3 separate regions of the Homo sapiens genome follow, and regions 1 and 2 are each linked to region 3. The links are contacts of gene promoters, found by promoter capture Hi-C in blood cells and fetal thymus (Javierre and others, 2016). All regions are on one chromosome and are shown on one strand. Each heading gives the region's core, a stretch centred on a gene start or on the middle of the fragment in contact. The rest is flanking DNA. Distances are from core to core; before and after follow the strand shown. Region 1 overlaps CAPN14 (calpain 14). Region 2 has its middle 3.0 kb from the start of CAPN14. Region 3 holds the start of LBH (LBH regulator of Wnt signaling pathway).

Region 1 (4,293 bases), core at 1,483-3,982, 940 kb after region 3:
GGAAGCCTCCCCTGGCCCTCTCAGGTTGTGCTAGATGCCTCTCCCGTGTTTCCACAGTACTGTGTGCATTCCCAGGTCACACTGCACCACAGACCACCTGTCAGTCATCTCTCACCCCCTCCAGGAGACTGTGAGCTCTGTGTCCCCAGTGCCTAGCAGATGCCTGACCCATTGCAGGAGCTTGATAAATGTCTTCAGGCGAATGAATGTTTGAATGGCTGGATAGATGGGCAGAAGGATGAGGTGAAAGCTTGCTGCCCAACTGGCCTCAGCATTCCAGGGTCTCATCAAGTGCCCTATGCTGGCCAGTCAAGTTCACCAGCAGAGCCAGCCAGGATAGAACCCCAGGGGGACAGGATTCACTTAAATTACTTACAAGTCTAGTGGAGAAAGGTTGCGCTCTAGACTGCATTCTTACCCTGCCTTCTCACTGTTAGTGTCAGTTCACTTCTAGGTCACAACCTAATTCCCAGCAGAGTTTCTGGAACAACTGCAGGTCAGTACTCAGTCTCTCGGGGTTGCTTGGTCTATGGTCCCGAAAACCCCTAGCTGGCAACCTGGAGCTCTGTTGAATAAACGGGCTGCTTCTGAGGTGAGAGGGAAGCAGAGGACAGAGCTTTAATAACGAGATGGCCACTTTCTCAGAGATCCCTGCCCCTGAGTCCCTGCATTGGAGACTGGAGTGGCCCTCCTGGTGCCCCACTTCAAGGAAGTAGTTTGATACATTCAGAAAGAGGATGTGGAAGAAGATGAGGAAAAGAGAAATAGAGCATAAAACCATGGGTGTTTCACTATGTCCTCTAAAAACCAAAATAAAAATAAGTAATAGTAGCTGTAGAAATTACTTGTTCTACCTCAGGGGAAAAATTGGAGCTTCATTCATTGGGTGCCTACAGCCTGCTGGCATTATCTAATCTTCACAATGACCCAGGAATGGAGGCATTTGGGCTCCATTTTACAAATGAATAAACTGAGGTCCAATGTCACACAGCTAGAGTGCATCTTCTCACCTCTCTTCTCTTTCATTTCTGTTGGATTTGGTAGCCTCTCTGTCCTCAGGACACTGGAGAAAAGATGGTAACCCAGGACCTGAGACCAGTGACCCCAAAGGACCATCTTTGCAGAGATCCTGAGAGCTTGATACACAGCCTGCTTCTCCATGATGCCCGCTTTTACCTACTCATCACCCACAACACTCATTTCCTCCTTTCCTTCATTATAAATCTAAATACATATACTTCATTGGGGAAACATCAGGTTCAAAATCCTGGAAGCCAAAATCATTTCTCTAACTCAATACAGCAATGGCAGGAAAACAGTGCTATTTACAGTCAGCCAGGAAGTGCCTTGCTCCAGGCCACATCTGCAATCTAGAAGGTTCTCTTTGGATAACTGAAGTTTTATACAAAACATGAAAGAAGAAACAAGACCAGGGATAAATAAATGGTAGGTATTTTCATCTCCTCTTGTTCAGGTAGAGTCCTGTTTTCCTGAGATTGTGACAGCCTGGAACAGGCCTCACTTTGATATGCTTTCCCTGCGTGGGCTGGACTTGACAACCCAACCTCTGGATTCCTTGACCTCACCCTCCTTGGCACTGGCAGGTGATTTCTCACTCCTCCTTGGCTGCACTTTCCACTTTTTCTTATTCATGGCAGACTTTCTGCTTTCGATATTCCAGAACTGCTGATGGTCAACTCTCAGCCCTTCAGCTGACTTCACCCTGGTGCTTGCCCAGTTTCTCCTGCCCCAGATCTCTATTTTCCCGCCCCTGCTTCCCCTGGAGTGACAGAAGATGGGGAAGCGTGGTGGGAGTGGGGAGATTGCTCTGCCCCCTGGTCTTCAGTACTCAGCTTTGGGGGTATAGGAGAGAATCTGGAGGAAGGGTGTCAGCAAAGACAGGTCATCTTTGAGTTGCCACAGTGCAGATACCTAGACTCAGGAGAGTGAGGCTAGCACCTGAGTGATGTAGGACCACTCAAACCACCCACTGAGAAGTCACCAGAGGGGCTCTCAGGCTTAATCAATGTGGAGATAGATCTATCTGCACCAACACAGCCAGCACACTATAGTCTAAATGTCATGAGTAGGATCATGGTGTCACCCTCCCATCACCCAAAAATATCTCCAAAACTGCCTTCAGGGGCCAAGGCAAAATTGGTTTATTAAAACAGCTATTTGCAATGGCAGATTTTAAAGACAAAGACACAAATAAGTCAATGGATATAAAAAACTGTAAAAGGCTGTAAATACATGATCATCATTTATAAAATCAACAACATCTCATGTATCTGGCACTTTATGGAAACCCATTTTACATTTTATCATTTGGAATAAATGAAGGGTTTTTTTTCCTAAATAAAATACTTTCCTACCCCATAAGCTACGCTTTCAAAGTGCTCCTTTCTTCTGGTACAGTACCCATCTGACAGGTGCTCAAATCTCCTTTAGTCCTCTGCCAATGGACACACTTTTATCTCTTCATTCAGCTTCCTTCCTGAGTCTGCTATGGAGTTGGAAATCAAACAGCCATGTTTGTTAGAATTGTTTGTAAATTAAGATTAAATAGAATACAGGTTGACTATCTCTTAACTAAAATGCTTGGGACCAGAAGTGTTTCAGATTTCAGGATATCTGCATTATAGACTTGTCAGTTGAACACCTCAAACCCAAAAATTCAAAATCCAAAATGCCCCTATTTCCTTTGAGTTTCATGTCTACTCTCAGAAATTTTAGATTTTGGAGTATTTCAGATTTGGGGTTTTCAGATTTGGGATGCTCAACCTGTAGTAATAAATGGCTCTGAGGTGCTAACTTATGAATAAATTGCATAGACTTTGGAAAAAGGCCATTGTTCTGGTTTTGCACCTGTATTCTTGGTTGAGAGGGATGACATAAACAAGGTGTTTCATGGTAGTTCAAAAAATCAGATATACCAACCACCCACTGATTGACTCTATAATTTAGCATGGGTTTGTTTTTGTCCTTTGAAGTAGATAGACAGAGAATTTCTGGACAGATTTGAAATGGATCTGATAGTCTATATATCAAGCAAATAGACACACCTGTCACAAGCAGGAAGCCCTTTGAGAACTCAGGTGTTTTAAATCTACTAGGTTGCCCCAGATCCAATCATACGGAGATATTGTCAGAAGAAGACTACCCCATGACCTCAGATGCCAGAGCCAGCCCACCCCACCTGGACTCTGCCAATTCTCTTACTGTCTGTGTTTCTGAAAGCCCACTATATCCCTGACCCCATCCCCAAACAGCTGAAACTTAGCCTATGTCTCTATCAATTTGCAGATGCTGGGACTAAATGTCTAAGGATATATCATTCCCATTTCAGACCTTAAAACCTAGATGATTACCCCACCATGTGAGAACATGTGGCATGTCTAAAGTCACTTGAGTTTGCAGCCACAGAGGCAGTGTTGTATGGAGGCTAACCACACCAGCTCTGGAGTCAGAATGCTTAGGCCATGTCAGGTAACATCTCCGCTTGTGACAAGGTTGTGGCCTCAGGGAAGGATGGCTAGCTTTTACAAATCTGATGTAATCTTTACTTCCTCCCTTCCCTTTCTGCATGCTGGCCATGCACGGGGAGGGCTGCAGAAGAGAAACCTTCCCAGCTGAGAAGGTGACGGCTAGTGAGGCTGTCCTGAAGATCAGTAAGTAGGGTGGGCATGGGTTGGTCTCAGCCAAAGGCTGCTCTTGGGCCACATGCAGAGTCTTCAGTGAGGGCAGGTGAGACTCAGCCTTCTCAGGAGTACAGTGCCATCATCATCCACTGGACATGTTGGGAAAGCAAATGATGGTCAGTTCAGACCCACGTCTCATCTGGGCCTCCCCATCCCACACTCCTGGGGAGCCATGGAGACAGAACATTAATGGATGGTTTAGCCAGAGGGAGCATATCATCCATTAGGAAGTATAAATCAACTTGAAATATAATCAACCTTGACTTCTCACGGTGCCTATGAATGATGACAGTCAAATACAGGCTGATTCTGTATTCAGTTCTCAATGAATTTTTTTCCCATGAATTCAATTTGGCATGCTTGTGCCAGCTCTGTGCAGGTGTGCAAACTGGCAGGGTAGCAGAAATCCATTAAAGCATATTCTACACGTTTACATTTATGGGGCCCTTGGTCTGACAGCTTTATGTGGGTTTGATGAACAACCCCTCTAACTCATATAGAGGGGACCTCTGGGGAAACCACTCCCCAGGCCAATCCCTCAGAATGATAAAGCTGAGAATAGTGAAGTTACCAATGGTGTCAGAGAAAGCCT
Region 2 (4,633 bases), core at 252-2,751, 990 kb after region 3:
CTTAAAGCATTTCTTAGCCCTCCTGTGGTTGCTCTAGACTTCTTCACTCCCTCCCCACCCCCACCCCCAAATCCTTCTCCTAGGTTCCCACCACCACTTGCACAGATTTCCATCATAGCAGCTTAGTTGGTTCCAGCTTGCCTGCCTCCACGCTTGCACACCTAGGATCCCCAGAACCCAGAACCATGCCTAGTACCCAGGAGGTGCTCAATATGTGTCAGTGGAATCAGAGTCCCTTGCCTGTGGAAATCCTCTGTCCTCTTCCTCCCCGCCTGCTTCTTGGCCTCTGCCTTGACTCTAATCTCTCCAACTCAATCATTTTGTGTGATTATCACTCCACCCATTTTATTAGTACTGATAAATTAACTAATATTGATAATAATAGCCAACACGTTTTGAGCACTTATGACATGCCAAGCACAATGCTAAGCACATTGCATGCAGAATCTCATGGAATCTTCACAACTTTGTGAGGTAGTGCTATTATTATCCACATTCTACAAAAAGAAAACGGAGGCACAGCATGGCAACTCGCCCAAGATAACCGCAGCCAGTAAACAGCAGAGATGGGGCTAAAGTCCCAGGGTGTCAGGTTCCACTAACTTCTCCTCATCTTTGTCAAGGAATTGTCTCCCTGCCACTGTCAAATCAAATCCAAAGCTTTCTTCCTGAGCTAAACGCTCTTTGGAGCCTTCCCCCTGCCTCATGTGCCAAATAGCCACCCTTCCTCGCATGGGTCTGAAGGTGTTATGAGGATAGCAGAAGCAGTGGATCTGGGAAGACCATTATTATTATTATCTATCTCCCAGACATAACCTTTTCATTTTCATCTCCTCATCCTGGCCCTTAGTTATCTTCCCCCTTCTATTCATCATCTTTTCAGGGACTCCAGGTGGGGGGCTTCCGCTCATCCCTTGGGACAGCACCCTGCACCTGGCACAGGGTTAGGCTCACTCTATGTCTAAGTTGTTGTTATGGTCACCACTGGGCTTACCATAAATTGTGCTGCGGATTCACAGAGCCACCGAGACGCATAGGGTAAGGCCCAAGGGCCATTTCCTCCCGTGACAACTCTTGAAAGTTATTGTCCTGGGTGACAGGAAACAGATGGCCGGGGAGCCTTGCACAGCAGCACTGTGGCCTTTTAACATCTCAGAGGTCATACATCCCTTCCCCAGGCTTCCGACTGTCACCCAGGACAGACTAGTATGCCTGAGAAAAAGGCAGTGAAGGCAAGTGCATCTGGTGATGAGCCTTCTGTCTCTGCAAGGCACAGGCAATCCTGACCCACAGTGGGCTGTGGACCAGAAGTGGGTTGGCAAGTTTGTGATTTATGACCAGAAATTTACTTTCCCGTGGAAACAAGATTTTAGGAGTGGTGAAGCCTTTCCCAGAAAGGCTTTGATGGGCTTCACAAGCTCAGGAGCAGTAGAACCGGAGCACTTGCTAGAGTTCTAAGTCCTGGAGGCAAAGAAGAGGGAAATGCATTCCTCGGCTGGTGGCACAGTGGAGTATTGGAGAATGAGGGTTGGCTTGAAAGTCAGAAACACAGATGTAGGTTCACTAACTTTGTGAAGCTGGGCAAGCCATTTCCTCTTTCTGGGACTCAATCATGTGAAACACAGTTGTGCTCGTCATCTCTCTACTTTCTGTTACAACATATTATGATTCTGTTTGGGACCAGCCTTGAGCAAACATTCAAAGGAGGTCAAATGCGTCTGTGGCACCTTCTAATGTCCTACTTCCCACTTCTTCTAGAAGAGTCCAAGTGCCCTAAATAATCTGCCTCTCCCACAAACCTAATTGCTCTCTAAAGTTTCTCCTTCCTTTCCCTCTAATCAAAATTCTCATTCCTTCAGGGCACGGGAAAGCAATCAAATTGAATTCCTGATGTCTCACTACTGTGTGAATAGCTTCCAAGTCCTTAACCTCACCATAATATTTGCATTTTTTAAAATAGAGAACTCCTTTTCCAAATGAATCCCTGATTGTTGGAATTTGGGGCACTGAAATAAGAAGTAAAAAAATCCAGTTGAGGAATAAAATAGAGTACTGAGATAGTAAATAATGACTGCTCCAAGGTGACCCTTCATGGGCACACAGGTTATTTATGGGGTTTCATTAGACTCACGTTAAGGAACAAGTAAAACTGTTTTGTATCCAACACAACTGTAAATAAGAAAAACTACTGAAATGCCTATGGCTAAGCTCTAACCATTGATTCTCCCTTTGCCAACATAAGAGTAAAGCGAGAAAGTCATGGGGTAGCATTACCCTGGCCAGGGTTACTTCTGGCAGCCCCACAGACAGGGGATGTCAGGCTGTGGTGGCTGCAGCAGCACCAAAGCTTCATAAAACTAACTGACGGCCAGGCATGGTGGCTCACGCCTGTAATCCCAACACTTTGGGAGGCCGAGGCAGGCGGATCACGAGGTCAGGAGACCAACATGACCAACAGCCTGACCAACATGGTGAAACCCCAACTCTACTAAAACTGCACAAATTAGCTGGGTGTGGTGGCACACATCTGTAATCCCAGCTACTCAGGAGGCTGAGGTGGGAGAATCGCTTGAACCAGGGAGGCAGAGGTTGCAGTGAGCCAAGATCACGCCACTAACTGACAAGTCATGCTATTCCTTGATGTTTTTTTCCACCTGATTTTTGTTCGTTTGGTTATACATTTTCAAAACCAGGATCCAACAAGGAGAAGAGAAGGGCTTTGATTTGTGAGTGGGAGAAAAGACAATAACAAGTTCAGAAGAATGAAAGGAAAAATTGATGATTCCATATATAACTTTCAAGCATTAGAAATTTATCCAAGAACCGAGATAATAAAAAGAGGCTTTGTGGGGTAGCTCATAAATGAAAAGTCATCGCCAAGGTTTCAAAGTAAATTCCAAGACCTAAGTTATTAAATCCTTCACATTCACAATATTTTTAGAATGTCACAGAAAAATATTCGTTAAGAAATTCACTATGAAGTTTGAAAAATAAACACAGACAAGCTATTTTCTCAACAGAAGGGTGTTTTCCTAAGTTATCAGAGAGCTAATTAAAATTTCAAGAACATTTATTCATAACAAATAATTTGAGTGAATTCTGATTGACAAGGACTGCTCTGTCTGGGGAGGGCTTGGGGACAGGGCTGTGAGCCATGCCAATCAGGGAGGCAAGGCAGGTACAGTGCATGTTTCTTATTTTCTGCCTCTATTTTAATTGTGTACTTGGCATTGTTTAATGGGTCCAAATCAATACACTACTAAGGAACATATTTCTAACCATTCTCTTCTTGACCCTTTCTTTGTTCCTGATATCATTTTCTCCAAGTGTCTCACAGTTTTACCTGTGTTCATCTGCCTTTTTGGGGTTTGGTTTTTTTTTGGTTTACTTTTGGCTTTGTTTTCCTTCTGACTTGTAAACTACCTATCTTTCTTGGCAGAAAATGTATTTGTATTTGCCATTATGATGCTCATGACAGGGAACACTGATCGCCAGGGAGAACAGCGTGGTTTCTGCATTTCCTTCCGAGAGACGGTTGCAAGGCTTCTGTTTCATGTCATTGGGGTATAGTCGGAAAGAAGCCCTGGTGGTAAATAAACCATGACTAATTTCAAGGATACAAAAGTGAATAAGACATTGCGACTGATGCCCAGAAGATGCAAGAAAAGAGGGACAAAGTGCCTTGAAGTCAGCAGCACCCCAGCCAGAGTGAGGGCTCTAGCACAGTTGCCAATGTAGCAGCCCCAATTCCTGGGAGTTTTTCACACACAACCCTCTGAAGCACTGTGTCTAGCATGGATGCCTCAGGTCTGCCAGTCAAAGGAATTCCTCACCTTAACAACTATGTCAAATAGCCATCCTAAGGCTTGCATTATCTTAAAATAGAGGGATTCTCTATGTACAGAAAATAACACACTTTTATGGAGTTGTGTGGGCAAAAGTTTTCAATAGAACATGGAAGAGACTTATGTTGAAATGAATTTTCCTCCTACAGTTCCAAGGAAAGGTTTATCTGTGCCTTTCAAAGCATAAAAGACCAAACTTCCCCTCAACTGAAAAGCATGATATCTAGTAAGTCTTTGAGTCTGGGCTTTTTCGAAAGAGGAAGCAGCTCTGAAAACATTAGTCGCTTAGGTGGCCTTCATACCTGGGCCTCCCGAACACATAGCAACCTTCACTTTGACCTGCCCTCTCTGGAATTATGTGGAGTTTGCATCCTAGAAAGAGCTTACGTTTGGAGTCAGATCAGCCTGCAGTTTGACCCTGATGCTACTGCTTACTAGTTGGATAGCCTCAAGATAGCAACTCACCTCTAAGAGCCTCAGTGTTATCATCCACAAAATGGGAATGATAGATACTTTACATGATTAGTGGAAAAATTCAATTGTTTGTTTTGTAATGAATATAAAACATTTAGTCCAGGGGCTGGTACATAATATGCACTCAATACATTTTTTGAAAATCATAATTGTGATTATTCACTAATGATTGGATTTGGTGCTTACTGAGAGGTTTTTGAGAACCTTTTAACCCCTTGGACTAGGTGTGATTGGTCTACAGGATATCCAAGTGAAAGTGTCAGAAAAAGATCTGGAGTTCAAAGATGTTACGGAGTGAATGTTTGCGACCTCCC
Region 3 (4,298 bases), core at 857-3,356:
CACAACCCCAGGCTTATTTCTATTTTAACTTACTGACAGAGATGAACTTTAGCTAAAATGGGCATTAATAAGTTTCCCAAAGAGTAGGCCTCAGGTAATTCCCTCAATGCACTCCAATGTAGAGGATTTTTCCAGAGGCCAGATAACAGCTGGTGGAGGCCTTACTCCCCACCCTCTTCTCCAAAATGAGGCCATTTTGACATTTAGATATTTGGGAAAATGGGGAGGGAGGGAAATAGCTTTCTGAGTTTTGAAAGCTTCACATGGCAATAATCACAAACACATAAAGTGTGTCTGTTATGTGTAAAAGTGGCGCAACAGTCTTTGATCCCAGCCTCACCAGAGATTGCTACTGGGAAGAAGTGGCAGAAGGCTTCATCCTGCCCACCCGGGGTCTAGCCCAGACATTTTCCTCTGAGTGCCTGGAAGTCTCAGCCTGGAAACTAGCTCTCCAAGCATTGGCGTCTCCTGTGGCTGCCTAGATGACAATGTGCCACACCTGGCTAGTGACACTGAGAAGCTTCCCCACCCTCTGTGCAGGACATCAACAATAACCCCATCCCTGCAGCATCTCCCGTTTAGCCCCTCCATCAGGCAACACCCCCAGAGGAAGAGAATGCGTTTAGCTTGGGAGGTGGGGGAATTTCTCTGGTTGGAGGGGGCAGCCAGGGGCTTGTCATGAAGCTGTGTTTTCATAGGAAGCACACTATTTTAACTCAGGTTGTACATATAAGCATATAAGTGATTGAAAATAGCCCAGTTATTTTTAAATAAATTATTCTCATCAATTCTTATAATTTTTGTTTGGGCTGGTTTTGCGGGGACTGATGAAAATTATGAGGGTCTTCTCTCACGGCTTCCTTCAGGGTCCTACCCCTGTCGAACCTTCGCCATTAATTCTGTCATCCTTTTGCCTGAGATAAGCTATGCGTTTCCACTTTCAAGTACATATATACGGATTCAATACACTCACTGCCTTTCTTTTAAAAAGCTGATTCACTTCAAAGCCAATTTAATTTTGCTTAGTTTTTGATCTCCCCGCGCCCCCTTTCCTCAGCCCCTATACACAGGTAGGTGAGGGTTCTAAAGCCATTTTACAGGCGTGATTGAAGCGGAGGCCACAGAGCGGCAGCGCTGGGTCCCGAGTGAGACTCCCATCATGTGGCTCTGGGGGGCTGCGCAGCTTTGACTGCCTGGACAGACGCCCAGAGCTGCAATTCCTGGGCAGTGTGGGAGGCGTTCGGCTAAAGCTCTTTGTTTCTGCTGTCATGAGCGACTCCTCGGAGAAGACGTGGGAGTCAAGGATGGGGGGCGGCGTGCACACCGCCCGCCCACACCTTCTGCCCCCGCTGCAGACCGGGCGTATGTGTGTCTCCAATGGAAAAATCCTACCCAGGACGACACCACATCCTTGCTCCCACAAATAAAACCTTCCACGGAACTCAGGGCTGCAGACCAGCCCTTCGCAAGCCAACGCGCCCCGTGGGCACTCGGTCCCCCGGCTCCGCGTCTCTGCCACCTTCCCACCGCTTCTTCTTTAACCATGCTCTTGTTTCCCCTCGCTGATCGCAAGGCTGCGGGCGAGGATTCCAGAGAGAGGCCTAGTATGGGGAACAAACGCTTCAGAGGGGTCCGAGGTGGGCTGGGGACAGCCAGTGGATGGGAAGGAGGGCGCTGGCGCCGGGCGGCTGGGGTGGAGGAGTGGCGGGTGCCCTACCCCGGCGCAGAGCAGCCGCCGAGCTGTCATGTCCCGAGCGGCCCCCGCGCCCTCCTTGCGCCCACCTCCGCCGCGCTGGAGTTCGGGGTGTGCGTGGAGGGGGCTGTGAGCGGGAAGCGGCGCGGACGCGGAGTCCGGGCCGGTGCGAGTGAGCGCGTGTGCGCGTGGGAGAGCGGCGGGAGGGGGCCGGGCTCGCAGCCGCAGCGAACCACGGCCCCGGGAGCAGAGCCGAGCGCGCCCCCGAGCCGCCGCCCGCCGGAGCTGCGAGCGCTGAAGCCATTCATGATTTTGGTGACGTTATTCCAGGAGTGGGCGAGGGAGGGCGGGGCCTCTCGGGGCCAAGCCCCGCCCCCGCCCCTATAAATACGGCTTCCCGGGCTCTTTGTGGGGCTGAGTGCTCAGTGGAGAGCGGGGAGTTGTGTCCACCTTGCCGACGTCGCTAGCCGTGGGGCTGTCCTGGGAAGGCGGACGGCGAGCGCCCGGTGTCCGCACTCGGCCGCCTGCCGTGCCCGTCTGCGCCCGTGTCATCCTCACTCGGGACGCAGGGACCGTTTTTAAATCACAGGGGCGTGTGTCAGCCTGCCCTAGGACTTCATGTCTATATATTTCCCCATTCACTGGTGAGTACCCTGCGCCTGCGGCGGGCGTCTGTCTCGCGGCGGTGGCTGCGGGCCCGGGCGCCTGCTTCGTGCCGGCTCCGGGTGCGAGGGCAGCCGGCGGCGCGGGCGCTCAGCGCTAACCCGCCGCCCGAGCCCGTGCAGGAGTCAACGTCAAGGTTGCAAAGGTGGGGGTGGGGGGAGGGGGTGCTGAGAACATCCAGACAAAGGACGTGAACTCGGAGCCCTCACCTAAGTGACGGCCGGAGGGTTTGTATTGGTTGGCGGGGGAGCCAGGGGTCACGTGTGAATCCCCCCCAATGAAACCACCCTATGCGGAGAGCTGCAGGAGGCGCGCGCCCCACTTGGCGCAGGGGGGCTCCTGCTCTTCCCGGGCCCCTCCTCTTTTTCTTTTTGTTTGCATGCAAGTCTCAACGTCGAGGCCGGCAGCAGCGGGGCTGAGCTGGTGCGGCCGCAGGGTTTGCAGAGCTCCGGGGGGGTGGGGGGCGGGAAACGCTCTCCCCACACGTAACCCCACTAAAGCCACAAGCAGCAGGGCACGCGCTGCAGCCTCTCAACCCCTGCCCTCTCCACCGCCCCTAAAAACCGACGCACATTGGTGGGGGCCGGGACTGGGAGGAGCCGCCTTCGCCGTGCTGAAGGGGAAGGAGCCCGGGCCGGGCGCGGGGCGTCGGAGGTTTGCCCCGGACTGGGGATCGGAGCCGGGAGGGATGCAGAGAGAGGCAGGCCCCTGACTGCTGGGACTTCCTTGCTGGCAGTTTCTTCCTTCCTGCTCTGGGTTAGAGGAGAAGCGGCCGGGGGCGAGCGCCGGCAGCCCCGGAGCGCGCTCTCAGGTGCGGACGTGGGGAGCTCGGCCCCGAGTCTCCGGCAGGCGCTGAGCGAAGGGAAAACCGGCGCAAGCCGCGGCGGGGTCCGGCCTGGCCCAAGAAGCGGAAAGTTCATGCTTCTCGCTTCAACTTTTCGGGCCGGCGCCACAGCCCCGAGCGAGGAAGAGCCGCCCCTACGTCAGACTCTTCACCCTGCGTGCGCTCTTCTGGCTCCTTTCTTTGGAGGTCGCCAGCAGCCTTTCCAAGACCCGGGAGGAAACTGCCTTTGCAGGGCCCAGCTCCCGAACCTAAACTTGCCGCAAAGCCCCGCATCTTCTGTTAGTCTCCCTGCCCCCATCCGTCCCAGCCTGGCAGTGTTTAGAGAGGGGACTGAACTTCCCTCTCTCAACAGTTCAAGTTCCCCCACCCCGAGGCTTGTGTACCCTTCTTGTGGGTGCCCCTCCCTTGCCTCTCCCGTGGTGTGTGAGCAGCTAGGTGCCTTATTATAGGTGAAGCTTTGAAGGCTGTTGGAGGCTTTGTGCCTTTGGCTGCTCAAAATTTGCCAAGGTGGGTGTTTGGACCCATTAAGAATATTATGAGAAATTAAGGTTTAAGTTTATTTCATCGATTAGCACTTTGCAGCTTGCAATGCTTTTATGCAGACATTAGCCCTTAACCTAACTGTGAGGTATGCACTATTAGCATCAGAGTAACAGACAAACAGGACACTTGTGGCTCAGAGAAGTTACAGGACCTGTTCAAGATCACACAGTTCTTGAGGGGCAGAGCCTAGAACCTATTGCTTCTGTTTCTAAATCCAGTGTCATTTCTTATCTATGTAGTAACCATACAATTGAAGAGGCATCTGGTACCCCTGTTTCCTTAGATACTGTCCCTCAAAAGACTCCCCCATATTTTTGTTTTAAACCATGTGCACAGGCACGATGGTGGAAAGCATTGGGTGCTGTGTAGCAGGTACCTGTATTTGGTGCTTATGTTCAGCATTATGTGCACGGGATCCTGTATGTGCCCAGAGTTTGTGCAAGGATAAGGGAATATTCGTATCCTGCTTAGAGAGTACAAGGCACTTTCACATGTCAGCCATTGGTGGGCCAGCTTGGCCCCTCTGGAAATTTCCTTTGCAGTCAGAGTCGGGTA

Evidence for each region. The method cuts DNA at HindIII sites, captures the fragments that hold promoters and counts their contacts. A CHiCAGO score of 5 or more calls a contact.
Region 1: a fragment that was not itself captured here is called in contact with the fragment with the promoter of LBH in region 3 in 1 of 17 cell types (neutrophils); the score reaches 5.6 in neutrophils.
Region 2: a fragment that was not itself captured here is called in contact with the fragment with the promoter of LBH in region 3 in 4 of 17 cell types (total B cells, naive B cells, monocytes and 1 more); the score reaches 10.9 in total B cells.

The regions. Positions count from the first base shown.
Region 1 is chr2:31,170,918-31,175,210 of GRCh38, forward strand. It overlaps CAPN14 (calpain 14), which reads right to left. Exons shown (of 22, transcript NM_001145122.2): 22 at 2,139-3,790. The coding sequence ends at 3,764. Among named protein-coding and RNA genes, the nearest start is that of GALNT14, 35 kb to the left of the region's middle. The HindIII fragment of the contact is 4,969 bases long and covers 249-4,293 here.
Region 2 is chr2:31,218,177-31,222,809 of GRCh38, forward strand. It overlaps a transcript of CAPN14 not described here. Among named protein-coding and RNA genes, the nearest start is that of CAPN14, 3.0 kb to the left of the region's middle. The HindIII fragment of the contact is 1,687 bases long and covers 659-2,345 here.
Region 3 is chr2:30,229,428-30,233,725 of GRCh38, forward strand. LBH (LBH regulator of Wnt signaling pathway) reads left to right here and starts at 2,107. Exons shown (of 3, transcript NM_030915.4): 1 at 2,107-2,337. The coding sequence starts at 2,312. RefSeq lists enhancers at 773-1,288, 1,289-1,803 and silencers at 1,607-2,156, 2,357-2,446, 2,837-3,036, 3,047-3,106. The HindIII fragment of the contact is 3,135 bases long and covers 519-3,653 here.